5 separate regions of the Homo sapiens genome follow, and all the other regions are linked to region 1. Evidence: promoter capture Hi-C in 16 types of primary human blood cells and fetal thymus (Javierre and others, 2016). All regions are on one chromosome and are shown on one strand. The core of a region is centred on a gene start or on the middle of the fragment in contact, and the rest is flanking DNA. Distances in the headings are between cores, read along the strand shown. Region 1 holds the start of ANAPC10 (anaphase promoting complex subunit 10). Region 2 overlaps ELMOD2 (ELMO domain containing 2). Region 3 overlaps ZNF330 (zinc finger protein 330). Region 4 overlaps SCOC-AS1 (SCOC antisense RNA 1). Region 5 overlaps NR3C2 (nuclear receptor subfamily 3 group C member 2).

Region 1 (2,700 bases), core at 167-2,666:
CTTCAAGCGATCCTCCCACCTCAGCCTCCCAAGTAGCTGGGATTACAGGTGTGATCCCATCACCCCACTAAGATCCTCATTTTAAATATTCATTGAGTGATGCAGAGAACAGTCATACCTGCCCTCTAGCTGTCAAAAGTTTTATTTAAGACCCAGCCCGGTGGCTCACACCTGTAATCCCAGCAGTTTGGGAGGCCAAGGCAGGTGGATTGCTTGAGCCCAGGAGTTCGAGACCAGCCTGGAATATGGTGAAACCCTGTCTCTAAAAAAATTCCAAAAAATCAGCCTGGTGTGGCGGCACACACCTGTAGTCCCAGGGGGGCTGAGACAGGAGGATCACCTGAACTGGGAGGCGGAGGTTGCAGTGAGCCGAGATCGTGCTACTGCACTCCAGCCTGCGTAACAGAGCAAGACACTGTCCCAAAAAGCACAAAAATAAGAAAAAAATGTTAAAAGTTCACTTACATATGCTCTTACCATAGAAGATAAGGTCAGGAAAATGGCTTCAAGATTTTGAAGTGAATAACTGGCCCATTCTAAAAAGGTTGACCTCATCTTTCACATCTTTTGTTAATTTTACTAAGTCTATTCATATGTGAAAAAACACTTCAATACTGGATCGTGAACAATATGTAAAACTGCTTTGGTAGCGCAGTTACTGCTACTGAACATTGTTATATATGCTATTCAAAATAGGTGCAATAGTTCTGCATACCGTTTCCTTGACACCTCCCATTGTATCCGAAGTTGTTCTTTAATCGGCACACAAGCACTTGATACTTACTAAATAACGGCAGACACAACGGACTGTAAACTTTGGCAAGGCCTGAGGCTTAAACGCTCAATAAGTAATTTACTGAATGAATAAACAGATGAATAGGTTCAGTTATGAACTAGTTGTCACTTGCCTGCAAGTTAGGTGAGATCTAGGGCGAGACTATTCAACCTGCAACCATCATTACTAACTGAATGTCCTGTTACCTAAAAAAAGATAGAAATAAAGCCCATCTTTAGGGCAGAATTCAACTGCCGGACTTGGGACTGGACGCCACCAAGTGGATAAAATATGGAGCTCGGAAAAGATTGGATTCCCGGCCCTGAACTGACCACACAGTTGAGAGGAAGTTGAGGCCTAGAAGAGCGCGCAACAGTAAGCCGTGTCGGCACCAGACTCTGTTGGTCCTACTGACACCTCCAGCGTTAGAATGACTAAGGCTCCACTCCTGACCCACCGGCCTTGAGGAAAGCGCAAACGTAAAAAAAGATTGAAACCGGAGAGGCGAATGCATCTGTTTACGCTAGGACCACGCTCGACGTCGGAGAAAAGCCCACACACTCACAGTTTCCAGACCTGGCTGCTTGCCGAAACTCAGATTCTCGGCACCTCCAGCAGCTGGCTTCGCCAACGGCGTTGAACAAGGGTCGCAGCTCAATGACGTCATATCTCCCTACCTACCTCCAGGGTTCCGCCTCACGCTCTATGTCGCGCGCGCGCACTACGTCCTATGGCTTGCGCGTGCGGCGGCTGGGCACCGCCATTTTGGCCGGTGGCCGTGAGAACACGCTGTGTGGCTGAAAAGTGAAGGCAAGAGCTGATTTGGCCTCTGTGCTCCCCTCCGCAAGGGGATCGTTTTCTCCAGGTACGTGAATAGCCCGGAGAGGTTTGGCCGTTAGCTGCCATCTGCCAGGTTGGAAAGAATGTAGGGACGTTCTCCGAGAGCCTTTGGTTAGGCCTTAGGTGGCGGAGACAGCAGCAGCGCGTGGCAGCGGTTCCTGCGGGACAGCTGGAACTGATGGAGCGCGGGCGACGCCGAGAGCTTGGGGGCGCCTCGGTCTTCCCCTCCAGCCGACCCGGCTGTCGCCGCTGTTGCCTGCCACACCCGCGAGGGACTTCGAGAATGGACCTAGATGCCGTAGTCTCCACTCCCCCTTTACCCCACTCCCGCCCTGAAGCTAAACCTGCTGGAGAGGAAGGCACCTTTAGAACTTACAGCACTCTCTAGTACCCCCACACTCCTCCAGCACCCAAAATGGATATATTGTCACATGTGCATATTTGGTTGTGGGAAGTCGTGGCTTCCACGTTTTGTTGAGTGGAATGAGTCATGGCATCTTGCCGCCATGAAGTCGAATACTCGCTGTCCACTCCCAGGCTTTATAGAAATGATGCCCACATGTCACTCTGCTTTTCTCAGAACAGCGTGTACGCAGCTATGACTGGGGTTGTCCCAAGTAGTTTCCCAGTAGAAATCCTATAGTTTTTTTGGTACGCTTTTGTAGCACTAGGCACTTTCTCCCCTTACCCGTTTTTCCTTTTATTGTATCTAATACTCATTGAGATCAAGGTTGATGTCTTTACTCAGAATACCTTTATTATCTCTTCAGGGCTTCGTACATTGTAGGCATTTAATACGTATTGTGAATGAATGACAGCCAAAGCCGAATTCCCACCTCCCATTAACTACATAAGCTTATTTTCTCTTTTTTGATGGTAAAAATCTATAAGAGGAAGAACTGTCCAAATAACATGTTTTATTTTTTTACTCTTTCCCAACAGGACTGCTAACTAGTCATTTATGATAGTGGCATTTATGTTGCAGTAGTTTGTCCCATATTCTGAGAATATTCATTGTATACCAGCCACCTGACACTAATACTTTGTTAGTGTAACCAAAGGCTCAGAACCTGTATTTGAACCAA
Region 2 (2,700 bases), core at 193-2,692, 4.6 Mb before region 1:
TAAAATATAAACTGTATTTCAAAGACTTATAAGAAAATGTAAAAAGTCCCAGTAATTGTTTATATTCTTTGTATGTTGAAATGGTAATATTTTGGATATGTTGGGTTAAAAATATATTAAAATGTTATCTGTTTCTTTTTACTTTAATGTGGCTATACAGAATTTTAAAGTACACAAATGGGTCACATTTTGGCTTGTGTTATATTTCTGTTGAACAGTGTTGCTCTGTTACCTTCTAAAATACATCAGTTTTCAGTGCTTCATTGAAAATTTTACTCTAAAATTTGAACACAGATGAGTAAGAACTGTGTTTTGAAGTCGCTTCTTTTCAGCCAGGGTAAGGAAGAGCAGAGAAGTGCTCTAGCTCATGCTCTCTGTGTTAAACGGAAAATTGTGAATTAGCCAGATTTTTTTTTTGTGTTGATCAAGTGTGCTTCGACTGAGAAATCAACCCCTGTCAGGTTAAGAGAGTGGAGTATTGGCAAATGGAACCTGTATCCAAGACAACATCGGAAGAATGACAGACAGACGCTGCCTCATAGCAGCTGGTTGATTAAGTTTAATTACTTTCCTAGTTTTCTTACAACTTCATGGTTGACTTAAATTATTGCTGCTCTTTTAATTTGCCCTTTTGACTACTCAAAAGAACAAAGTACCTCTTGATAAGAAATCTCTTCAGGCAGTATGGGTTGGTGTTTTATAGTGTGGGGGAAGAATATATATAAAGGCATTTGTTTGTGGCAAAAGCATTTTTCCTAAATTTTTCAAATTGCTGAGAAAAGATTATTCGTAAATGTGCCAGAAAATTTTTTAAATAGACCAATAAAAATGTTCCTGTGATTCTTGATATAGAAACCAGGAATGGAGAAGCTATTTGTCTGGTGACAGAAGGGTTGACCAGATAATCTGAAGTCCTTGCCTATTTGTTGTACGATTTGGTTGCTATCACCTCAAATCTAAAGGCTCAGGCTAACAAATGAAAATGCAGTAGAGAGCACTCTCATTGTAGTCTTAAGATGAGTTTCTGGGACCTGAGCTACTGTGACACAATTATGGGTGAATTTGCAGTGGTTAGTAGACACTTTGGGGTCTAAACAGAAACATATGACCCCAGGTAATGAGGTTGGTGTCACCTCTTTGAATAGGTATTTTGTGTTTGGTTGAGTTTTTTGAAATCATATGTTTATACTGTAAGATTAAATTTTAAAATGCTTCCTGTTATATAGAAATTATATCTCCTGGAACTATTAGTTTGTTACTGGTTTGATATTTTTACTAGTTGTTTATTATAGGGTAATTGACAAACAGCATTTAAGTGATAACATCTTTTTTTTTTTTTTGTCATTTCAGAAAATTCCTTGACATACTCCAAGAATAAGGTAGGATAACATAAAGGTGGTAACTCTAGAAAACTTAACGTGGACATATTTTTTCTTAAAAAAAAAAAAGTGCCCTGCTAGAAGAGTGTTTTCTATAGTGAGCATTGAGTGAAATTTTCCCCGTTTAGAGGTAATATTCTGTTTTCAAACATTTCTCTATATATGTGTTTTTCGTGTGTATTTCAAAGAAAATACTTGAATAATTTGTCCTGTCCTGAGGTTTTATTTGTTTATTTTGCTTTAAGAGTTGATAGCTTTTAGGAAAGCAGGGCCTTAGGAGGAAAGTCGTCTTTTAGACTGTGTCCTCAGGATAGATTATATGAGAGAAAAGCAACTTAGGATAGAGAAAACCCTGGGTTGTGTACCTTTTGAGCTAAAATAAGTCATAATTCATGCTATGTATTAGTCAGCTTTTGCTGTGTAACAAACTATAATAAAATCTCAGGGGCATAAAACGATACGTTGTTTCTTGCTCATATGTCTATGGGTCAGCTGGAGAAGCCTTACTTCAAGCTGGGGCCAAGTTCCTGTCTATTCCATTTGTCTCATCTGGGACTCAGGTAGGGGGTTAACAGGTATCTGGTGAATGTTTTCACCATGGATAACTAAAGGCCCAACTACACAAATATATTTTAAGTCTCTTTGTGTCATGTCTGTTAGCAACCTGTTAGTTAAAACAAGTTACATGGCCAAGCCCAAGTCAAGGGGTGGAGAAATATGATATGCCCACCGTAAGGCTATGGTAGGGAGTAGGTTGTATAATTCAATTACAAGGTAATGAAGAATTGGGACCAATAATTCAGTCTACCACATGCTGTTACTTCCCTATTGTAGTTCACAATTTTGTCTACATGTAGATTATTTGGTGTGGCAAGGATAGAATACGGGTCATCTAGACCATTGTTTGAAATCCCATAATAGAACACAACCAGTATTAAACAATAATAGGAATAGAACAGAAAATATTTAGAAACCATTGGTCATAATATGGTTAAATATATTTTAGGAATTTTTTATACTATTATAATTATTTTAAATATTTCTGTGTACATCTGTGTGTATTTTGGACATCCACATGAATGTTTGTTATTGATCATGATGTAAAATGTGGCTCAAGGTCAAAAATGTTGATTTGCTACTGTCTAGTATTATGAATCGTGCCAGAAATAAAATAGACCTTCTTGAGAGTTGCAAGCATATCTGTTATGTTCTGAAGAGTAACCTTTAAAATAGGTACTTTAATGATTTAGTTGTACTCTTTAAGAATGGTCTATTTAAGAATAACTCATATATATAAGTGAATATTTGGGGGAAGAGTCCA
Region 3 (2,700 bases), core at 36-2,535, 3.9 Mb before region 1:
CAAATGTTTTTCTTCATTAGGGAAAACAAAGTGCATGATGAAGTCTTCAGACTGTGTCATAAAGCATGCTGGTGTATACAGTACTGGCCTTGCAATGGTGGTAAGCTTCTTATTATCTCTTAGACTAGTACGTTTTCAAGGATAAGAAAATGTCATTCTGATCAGTGGTTATTTTTTTCTAAATATCATTGCTTTGTCCCTTGTTTCAATCAATCTGTAGTTATCTGGATTATGAGTGGCATGCTTTTTGTATGATTTTCCCTTAGTACCCACTTGTTTCTAGCTGCTTCTTTCTTTCTTATTAGGGAACATACAAGGCATGGAAACTTTTCATGCTGATCTAAACAGAATTTCATTTCTCAGTGGTACCTTTTTTTTTTTAAATTTTATTATTATTATTATACTTTAAGTTTTAGGGTACATGTGCACAACATGCAGGTTTGTTACATATGTATACATGTGCCATGTTGGTGTGGTGCACCCATTAACTCGTCATTTAGCATTAGGTATATCTCCTAATGCTATCCCTCCCCCATCCCCCCACCCCACAACAGTCCCCGGTTTGTGGTGTGTGATGTTCCCCTTCCTGTGTCCATGTGTTCTCATTGTTCAGTTCCCACCTATGAGTGAGAACATGCGGTGTTTGGTTTTTTGTCCTTGCGATAGTTTGCTAAGAATGATGGATTCCAGCTTCATCCGTGTCTCTACAAAGGACATGAACTCATCATTTTTTATGGCTGTATAGTATTCCATGGTGTATATGTGCCACATTTTCTTAATCCAGTCTATCATTGTTGGACATTTGGGTTGGTTCCAAGTCTTTGCTATTGTGAATAGTGCCACAATAAACATACGTGTGCATTTGTCTTTATAGCAGCATGATTTATAATCCTTTGGGTATATACTCAGTGGTACCTTTCTAATATCTCTTAACCAGACTTCACAAAACAGTATTTAGTGTACCGAAAGCCCTGCTTAACCAACGTTTAAGCCTTTGGTTAAATAAGCAACTTAGTTCCAAACGAACCTAGGATAATAGTGTTCTTTAAAACTTTACATTTCAAAAAAGTGTATATATTTAACATACCTCTTCATTACATATAGGATTTTTTAAAGTAAATTCAGCTTTTTGAATAATAAAACCAACTGGATTATGTGATGTATTTTGCTCTTTTTCCTGAAACATGTTTTCCTTCTAAATATGAGTTAACCAGTTTTACTGTATTGCAGTATGATTTTATGTTCAAATAAAATTTTGTTCAAATTTTAATCTATGAGGAAAATGATACTATATTTATGTCAAATGGAATATTTTATTTATGGTAAATTTCCAAGAACATGTAAACTTCTATTATGAGGGAGACCTATGATATATTTCATATGTGCATATATTATAGAAGCAAGGAGCGAGAATTATCATCTTGTGAATTGCTCTTTATTTTAAGTATAGGATTGTCAAGTTATCTTTATTCAAAAACACTTTCAGTCTTCCTTGGTAGCTTAAGTTCAGCCAAATTCATTTTTTAAAATCACTGTTTTTTGAATGTGAATAATTTCTTCTTACATAAAGAAAACATTTAAGTAGAGTCATATATCTTTAGTTGTAAATTCTAGAAAAGTGATTTTCTGGATATCTTCTATTTGCCTCCCCAGATTCCCCCTGAGAATAGCAGGAGAATAAGATCTGGGTGTTTATTCCTTCATCTCACTCCGTACCAGGTTATCCTGGTTTGGTTTTATCCTTTCTCTAAGGACCACAGTTCTCCCTATATGGCCAGGTAGTCCTCTCCTGTTTGTCCTAAGAACTTCCCTGTCCTCTGCAAATTATCTCTTTAAAACTCTTCTAGATTACCTAGTTTGAGAGTACCATCTCTTTTTTGCAAGAACCCTGGCTGATCCAAGAGATATAGTTGATGATTTGCTAGCTATACTGATAACCCATTTTTGCAAGTCAAAAAACATTCTTCCTATTTGTTGTTTACTACATTTGTTTCAGAGCCTTGAATAATAGAATACTGAATTGAGATTCTGAAATCCTGGCTTTAAATCTCACCTCACCTGTAATCCAACTCGGGACTTGGATTTAGTCTTGGGCCCCATGCTTTTCCTTTATAAAGGAAAGATTGTCTGATCCTACTCTCTTAAGATTCTTTCTAGCTTTTAATATTTGGTAGGTGTCAATGTTTTATTGAAACATATTGTTATTGTCTTTTCTTGATATAGAATTGGAGAATCTTACCCTGTATTTTAGTTCCATATATTTTACTTCAAATTTTTTCCACAAAGAAATGTAATTATTATTAAAACATAAGTTGTCATAAGAGAAAAAAAGAAGCTGGCAGAAGTTTCGTATTTCTCAGTAATTCTAGAAAAGCTATGCAAATATATAGATAAGAAGGTATTTTAAAAATCAGAAATGGTAGTATTTAAAAATTCAGTGTAGTTACAGGAATTATTATAGACAAGAAAGCTTAAGCTGTTGGTTCCTTCAAACTTTATTTGAATTAAATTCATTTTGAGGAAAATACTTCCATCTCTTTGGCTTAATTAAATAATATTAGGATAAGTGTACAGTTTACCTTTTTTTCTTTTGATATGTAACTGAGTTTTGTATATTGTGGATAGCTGTTAAGAAGTTGTTTTTCAGAGAACCCTTTTTATTTTTGGCTTAGAGTGAGTAGTAAAATGTTTAAATGAAGC
Region 4 (2,700 bases), core at 124-2,623, 4.7 Mb before region 1:
ATTCTCTAGGAAAAAAAATGTAATTTTGTGCCTTTATTTAGATGAACTATATTATCAATATTCACATAGTCCAGGTCGCATGAATGTTCACCTTATAATCAAATATTTCTATGCAATCTCAGTGGTTTCTATTTGTACTTATAGCCTTTCCTTATTCAGAAGGGGGATTTTTTTTTTTTTTTTTTTTTTTTTTTTTTTTTTTTTTTAGATGGAGTTTCGCTCTTGTTGTCCAGGTTGGAGTGCAATGGCGCCATCTCAGCTCACTACAACCTCCACCTCCTGGGTTCAAGCAGTTCTCCTGCTTCAGCCTCCCAAGTCTGAAAGCTGAAAATAAGCTGAAAGCTGAGTCATGCAAGAGCTGCCTTTTTATGTTTACATTTTAGTTTAAAATTACTTTCTAATTTTTTTGTGTGTGACTTCCCCTGTGACCCATGGTTTGTTTAGAAGTACATAGTTTGATTTCCAACTATTTGGAGATTTACAAATATCTTTCTGTTACTGATTTCTAGTTTAATTTGTGGGTAGAGACAATAATTTTTACTGTTTCAATTATTTTAAATTTGCTGAGATTTGTTTGATGATACACAGTGGAGTCTATTTTGATGAATTTTCCAAGTGCATTGGAAAAGAAAGCATGTTCTTCAGTTATTGGGTGCAATGTTCTACAAATGTCCATTAGGTCAAGTTGGCTGATAGGATTGTTCAGGTCTTCTATATCAATAGTTCAGAAATTTGCCAGCCTTTTTTCAAAATCACCTTCGTAACTTTCAAAAATACTAATGCCTGTATCTCACTCCTTAAGACTGTAATTTATTCTGAGGTGTGGTCTGTTCACTAGAATAATTAAAAGATTCCCAGGTGATTCTAATATACTGAAAAGTTTGGGACCTGAGTTCTGTATACTTAAATTATCTGTATAGTTGTTTTACAAATTGCAGAGCAGGGAGTAATGAACTGTTTGAATTCAATTAATTTTTGATTCATTTCTATTTTGTAGCACTGTGGTTAGGATTTTGTGTCTTCTTGATGAATATGCCCCTTTATCTAATTGTTTTAATGTTATTTTACCTAATTATTAGTGAAGGTAAACATTTTTTAAAAACCTTTCTGGCCGTTCAGTTTTCCTCTTCTGTAAGTGGCCTACTTACGTTATTTGCATATATTTATCTTGAGTTGTCTTTTTCTTACTGATTTGTCTGAATTCTTTTTTTTTTTTTTGAGACGGAGTCTCACCCTGTCGCCCAGGCTGGAGTGCAGTGGCACCATGTCACTGCAAGCTCTGCCTCCTGGGTTCATGCCACTCTCCTGCCTCAGCCTCCCGAGTAGCTGGGACTACAGGCGCCCGCCACCACGCCCAGCTAATTTTTTGTATTTTTAGTAGAGACGGGGTTTCACCGTGTTAGCCAGGATGGTCTCAATCTCCTGACCTCGTGATCCACCCGCCTCGACCTCCCAAAGTGCTGGGATTACAGCCGTGAGCCACCGCGCCTGGCCTGAATTCTTTATATTTTGAGAGTTTTACTATATTCTGCCAACCTGTGGCTTGTTTTTTAACTTGATTAGAGATGGCTTCTCTTCTGTTTGTAAAACTTCCAAATTTTAAAATAATCAATATTTTACATCTTTCCTTAATGAATCGTGCTGTTTCTTCCCTACGGCGATATACAGACATACGCTTTTCTTCTAAAAGTTTAGAGTTTTGTTTGTCACATTTTGGATCATTATTTCATTTGGAATTTAGTTTTATTTCTGTCGTGGTATCAGGATTGAATTTCTTATTTTTATATAAATAGCCAATTTAACTAGAACCACCATAACTTGTGTTTTCTATATCCCACGAACAGTTACTATACTAATTTACACTCCCAACAGTAATGAATAATAGTTTTTTCCCCACAACCTTAGAAACAGTTATTCCTCACCAGACATCTTTATTGTATACCAACTTCCAGGTACCCTTTTTTTCCTAATTTTCTTTTTGTCTATTCTTGTGTCAATACCACTTTTTTAAAAGTTGCTTTAAAATAGAATTACCATATGATTCAGCACAAATTAACACACACTTCTGGGTGTATATCCAAAAGAACTGAAAAGAGGGTCTCAAAGAGACATTTGCACACCCATGTCCATAGCAGTATTATTCACAATAGCCAAAAGGAGGAAGCAACCTAAGCGTCCACTGATAGATGAATAAACAAAATGTGGCATAATACACATAATAAATGATATATAGAACTATTCAGCCTTAAAAAGGAAGTTCTGCAATATGCTATAACATGGATGAACTCTGAGGCATTATGCTAAATGAAATAAGCCAGTCATAAAAGGGCAAATTCTGTATTATTCCACTTAGGTGAGGTACCTAGAGTAGTCAAACTGATAAACACAAAGTAAGATGATTACTGCCAGAGGATGAGGGGAATAGGAAATGGAGAGTTGCTCTTTAATAGGTATACAGTTTTAGTTTGGCAAGATGAAAAGAGAGATTGGTTCTGGAGATTGGTTGGAGAACAATGTGGAATGTATCTTATACTACTGAAGTTAAAAATGGTTAAGATGGTAAATTTTATTCTATGTATATTTCACTACAATTAAAAATATTTAAAAATACTGTTCTAGCAAAAACAAAAGGTTGCTTTTAATAGTTTCTCTTGATCTTTGGTGTCCTGCAATTTCACCGTTGCATAGAATTCTTATATT
Region 5 (2,700 bases), core at 80-2,579, 3.3 Mb after region 1:
TTCTCAATCTTGGCACATTGACATTTTGGGCCTGATAATTCTTAGTTGTGGAGGTCAATAATGCATTGCTAAGGCGTTTAGCAGTATCCCTAACCCCTACCCACTAGATGCCAGTAGCATTCCACCTCCCCAGTTGTGACAACTGAAAATGTCTCCAGACATTACCAAATGCCCATGGGGGGCAAAATCACCCTTGGCTGACAACCACCACTGTAAAGAAACATATCTTAAAGGAAATTAACTCACTCACAGTAAAATTTTATTTTTACATTTTAGTATTTTAAAACTCCTAAAATCTGTATTATGCATTTTTCAAACATTTCAAAGTCTGTAAACAATCTATGGCCCAAAAAAAGTCCTGATCTAAAAGATGCTGTTTCTGCCATTCTATACACAAGTTTTATTTTTGGCCTCTCATCCTTTCCCCTCTTTGTCACTATCTCCACCCTGCCTACCTTCCCTTCATTTAAAAAAAAACAAAAAACACGAAGTCCTTTTGTTACAGAATATGTATTAACATTGAAAAATAATGCTACTAAATAAATTTGCATTAGATAAATCTTAGCTGGACTCATAAATAAATTTGCATTAGATAGCACAAAGCCCTATGAAGAAATTTAATGTCCAAATTGTCCAAGTATTATAATTACCTCTTACTTTTCTGTGTTTTTACACTAGAGTTTACCTTCTCAAAGGGCAGAAATGATCAATTTCACTACAGTATCCCAAGTGGATACATTGAAAAAATTTTCAACTATTATAATATCAATGCTCAATTTCCAAACATTAAAATCTACCAATTATGTAGTATGTTTTCACTTAAAGAACATCCTATGAATTCCTAATCAAAAATCAATCACAAAACAGTAGAAAATAAATAAAATTACAAAGGTTGAGGTAGTTATCTATTAATAGTAATTCCAGCCAAAATGTTTGGTGTGGATGAAAGCCAAGTAAAAGCTGATAGAAAACTAAACTAAAAAACAGTGAATTGGGATCCAAATAGCTAAGACTGGCCTTTTATGCTTTACTAAAAAACCATTTAGTCATAGCTATGTATTGAAAAATAGCAGTAAATATTATATGCTGCTTCTATTTCTACCTAAGAATATTTTGTCTTCCCCATACTAAAGATAAATTACTATATAGCTAAGGTATAAATGGTTCAGATCCAAATCCATTAAACAACACAATAAATATGTCTATTTGTATTCAAAACTGAACACTTTCTGCACATCTCTCCCCCCACACACCCCCAAATTCACATTCGCTCTCTTGGCAAACTGCACCACCATCTAACCAGATGCCTGGAAGTTACTCTTGTCTCAACAGCTTTACCTGAAGGCCTTCACTGGCACACTCTGCGTCACTCACATAGCCTCATTCTCTTCCTGGTCATAGTCAAGAGGGCTCTCTGTCCCGTGTCTGAAGGGGACCCCCACCCAGACCCCTCTCCAAAACCCATTCTCCAAATTGTCTTTTGGGAAGGGCGGTCCACTCTTGGCTTTTTTGAAATTTCCCTATATAAATTTGCATATCAAAACCTCTGGGAGATTCTGTTTACTTTTTAATCCAGCATTCCTCAAATAATTTGACCACTCCACCTTTTTCTCAAAGAACATCTACTAAGATTCTGCACTTTTCGGCACTCTGCCCTAAAGCAAGAACCATATCCCACATTTGTGAGGCTACGGAAGACCTGAAGAGAATCTATACTGGAGATGATGGGTACCAAAGACAGTCTTAAAGCCCTGGACAAGGTAGCACCTTACCAGCTAACATCATACAGCTGATCACAACTTTCCAAGTCCTGTTTGGCTAACCTTGAACTCCCTTAATAACATAAAATAGGCTGTGTTTCACCACATTATTGACAGGAGTCTCATTAAGGAATTTGCAAAAGGCTTTGCTGAAATCTAAATTACTTTGTTTAAGGTATTCTCATCTACCAACCTAATGCACCTCTCAACAAAGGAAACAATACAGATTGGCAATAGTCAAACACAAAAGAATACAAGACATCTAGCATCTGCACGGCTTCTACACAAACATTTTTTTAAGATCAGATATTTTTCAAATAGCATTATTGAAATATTTTGAGTCTCCCTAGTATTTTAATTAGTCTTTTCTGTAAACAAATGGGTCCAGTTAGGAATTTATTTACTATGTCATCCAGGAAGCAGAGGTTATCTTTTTGCAACTGGCACAATGACCATGGCTTGAGCAGAATTTCAGTCAACCTGTACTAACTAGTGAATACTGAAAATACTAGTCGATGAATATGATCCTCATAGAACTTAATATCTAGAGGATAAAGAAAAAGTTTATGTTACTAAAGTATAAAATGAAGCAGATAGAGGTATACAAATCTAACTAACAAAAATCAGGCTTGCCTGCCTCACAATGGAAACCATACCAAAGATTCTCTTAGGACAAATGCAAAAAACATTATGAACTTTTAATTTTCATGCAAATGGGCCTCGCCCCAAAACACAAAAAAAAATTCACTAAAGGAAAAGCACTGGTGGAGGTGCTACTTTAAGCCATACATATGCTCTCAAACACAAAAGAAATGCTGTTTTCACAAAGGAAAACCTTAAAGTTTTACGTTTTACAGTCTGTGTTAAATTGCCCTTTTCCATAAAGAAGTACTTTTTTCGGGAATATTAACAAAGATCCTTGCGAATTTGTATTTTATCT

Evidence for each region. The method cuts DNA at HindIII sites, captures the fragments that hold promoters and counts their contacts. A CHiCAGO score of 5 or more calls a contact.
Region 2: a contact is called between a fragment that was not itself captured here and the fragment with the promoter of ANAPC10 in region 1, in 2 of 17 cell types (total CD4 T cells and naive CD8 T cells). The highest score is 8.7, in total CD4 T cells.
Region 3: a contact is called between a fragment that was not itself captured here and the fragment with the promoter of ANAPC10 in region 1, in 2 of 17 cell types (non-activated CD4 T cells and total CD4 T cells). The highest score is 5.8, in non-activated CD4 T cells.
Region 4: a fragment that was not itself captured here is called in contact with the fragment with the promoter of ANAPC10 in region 1 in 1 of 17 cell types (total CD4 T cells); the score reaches 5.9 in total CD4 T cells.
Region 5: a contact is called between a fragment that was not itself captured here and the fragment with the promoter of ANAPC10 in region 1, in 1 of 17 cell types (non-activated CD4 T cells). The highest score is 5.0, in non-activated CD4 T cells.

Annotation. Positions count from the first base shown.
Region 1 is chr4:145,096,780-145,099,479 of GRCh38, forward strand. It overlaps ANAPC10 (anaphase promoting complex subunit 10), which reads right to left and starts at 1,417. Exons shown (of 5, transcript NM_001256706.2): 1 at 1,341-1,417. ABCE1 (ATP binding cassette subfamily E member 1) reads left to right here and starts at 1,532. Exons shown (of 18, transcript NM_002940.3): 1 at 1,532-1,640. RefSeq lists enhancers at 672-1,543, 791-1,990, 1,124-1,173, 1,254-1,513, 1,544-2,415 and 1 more. The HindIII fragment of the contact is 4,584 bases long and covers 1-2,468 here.
Region 2 is chr4:140,526,116-140,528,815 of GRCh38, forward strand. ELMOD2 (ELMO domain containing 2) reads left to right here. Exons shown (of 9, transcript NM_153702.4): 3 at 1,351-1,379. Among named protein-coding and RNA genes, the nearest start is that of ELMOD2, 3.3 kb to the left of the region's middle. The HindIII fragment of the contact is 4,334 bases long and covers 1-2,700 here.
Region 3 is chr4:141,226,747-141,229,446 of GRCh38, forward strand. ZNF330 (zinc finger protein 330) reads left to right here. Exons shown (of 10, transcript NM_014487.6): 5 at 21-100. Among named protein-coding and RNA genes, the nearest start is that of ZNF330, 7.2 kb to the left of the region's middle. The HindIII fragment of the contact is 2,365 bases long and covers 104-2,468 here.
Region 4 is chr4:140,369,691-140,372,390 of GRCh38, forward strand. All of the region lies in intron 1 of SCOC-AS1 (SCOC antisense RNA 1), which reads right to left. It also overlaps a transcript of SCOC not described here. Among named protein-coding and RNA genes, the nearest start is that of SCOC-AS1, 2.4 kb to the right of the region's middle. The HindIII fragment of the contact is 4,110 bases long and covers 1-2,700 here.
Region 5 is chr4:148,438,138-148,440,837 of GRCh38, forward strand. The region is part of intron 1 of NR3C2 (nuclear receptor subfamily 3 group C member 2); the gene reads right to left. Among named protein-coding and RNA genes, the nearest start is that of NR3C2, 2.9 kb to the right of the region's middle. The HindIII fragment of the contact is 2,969 bases long and covers 1-2,700 here.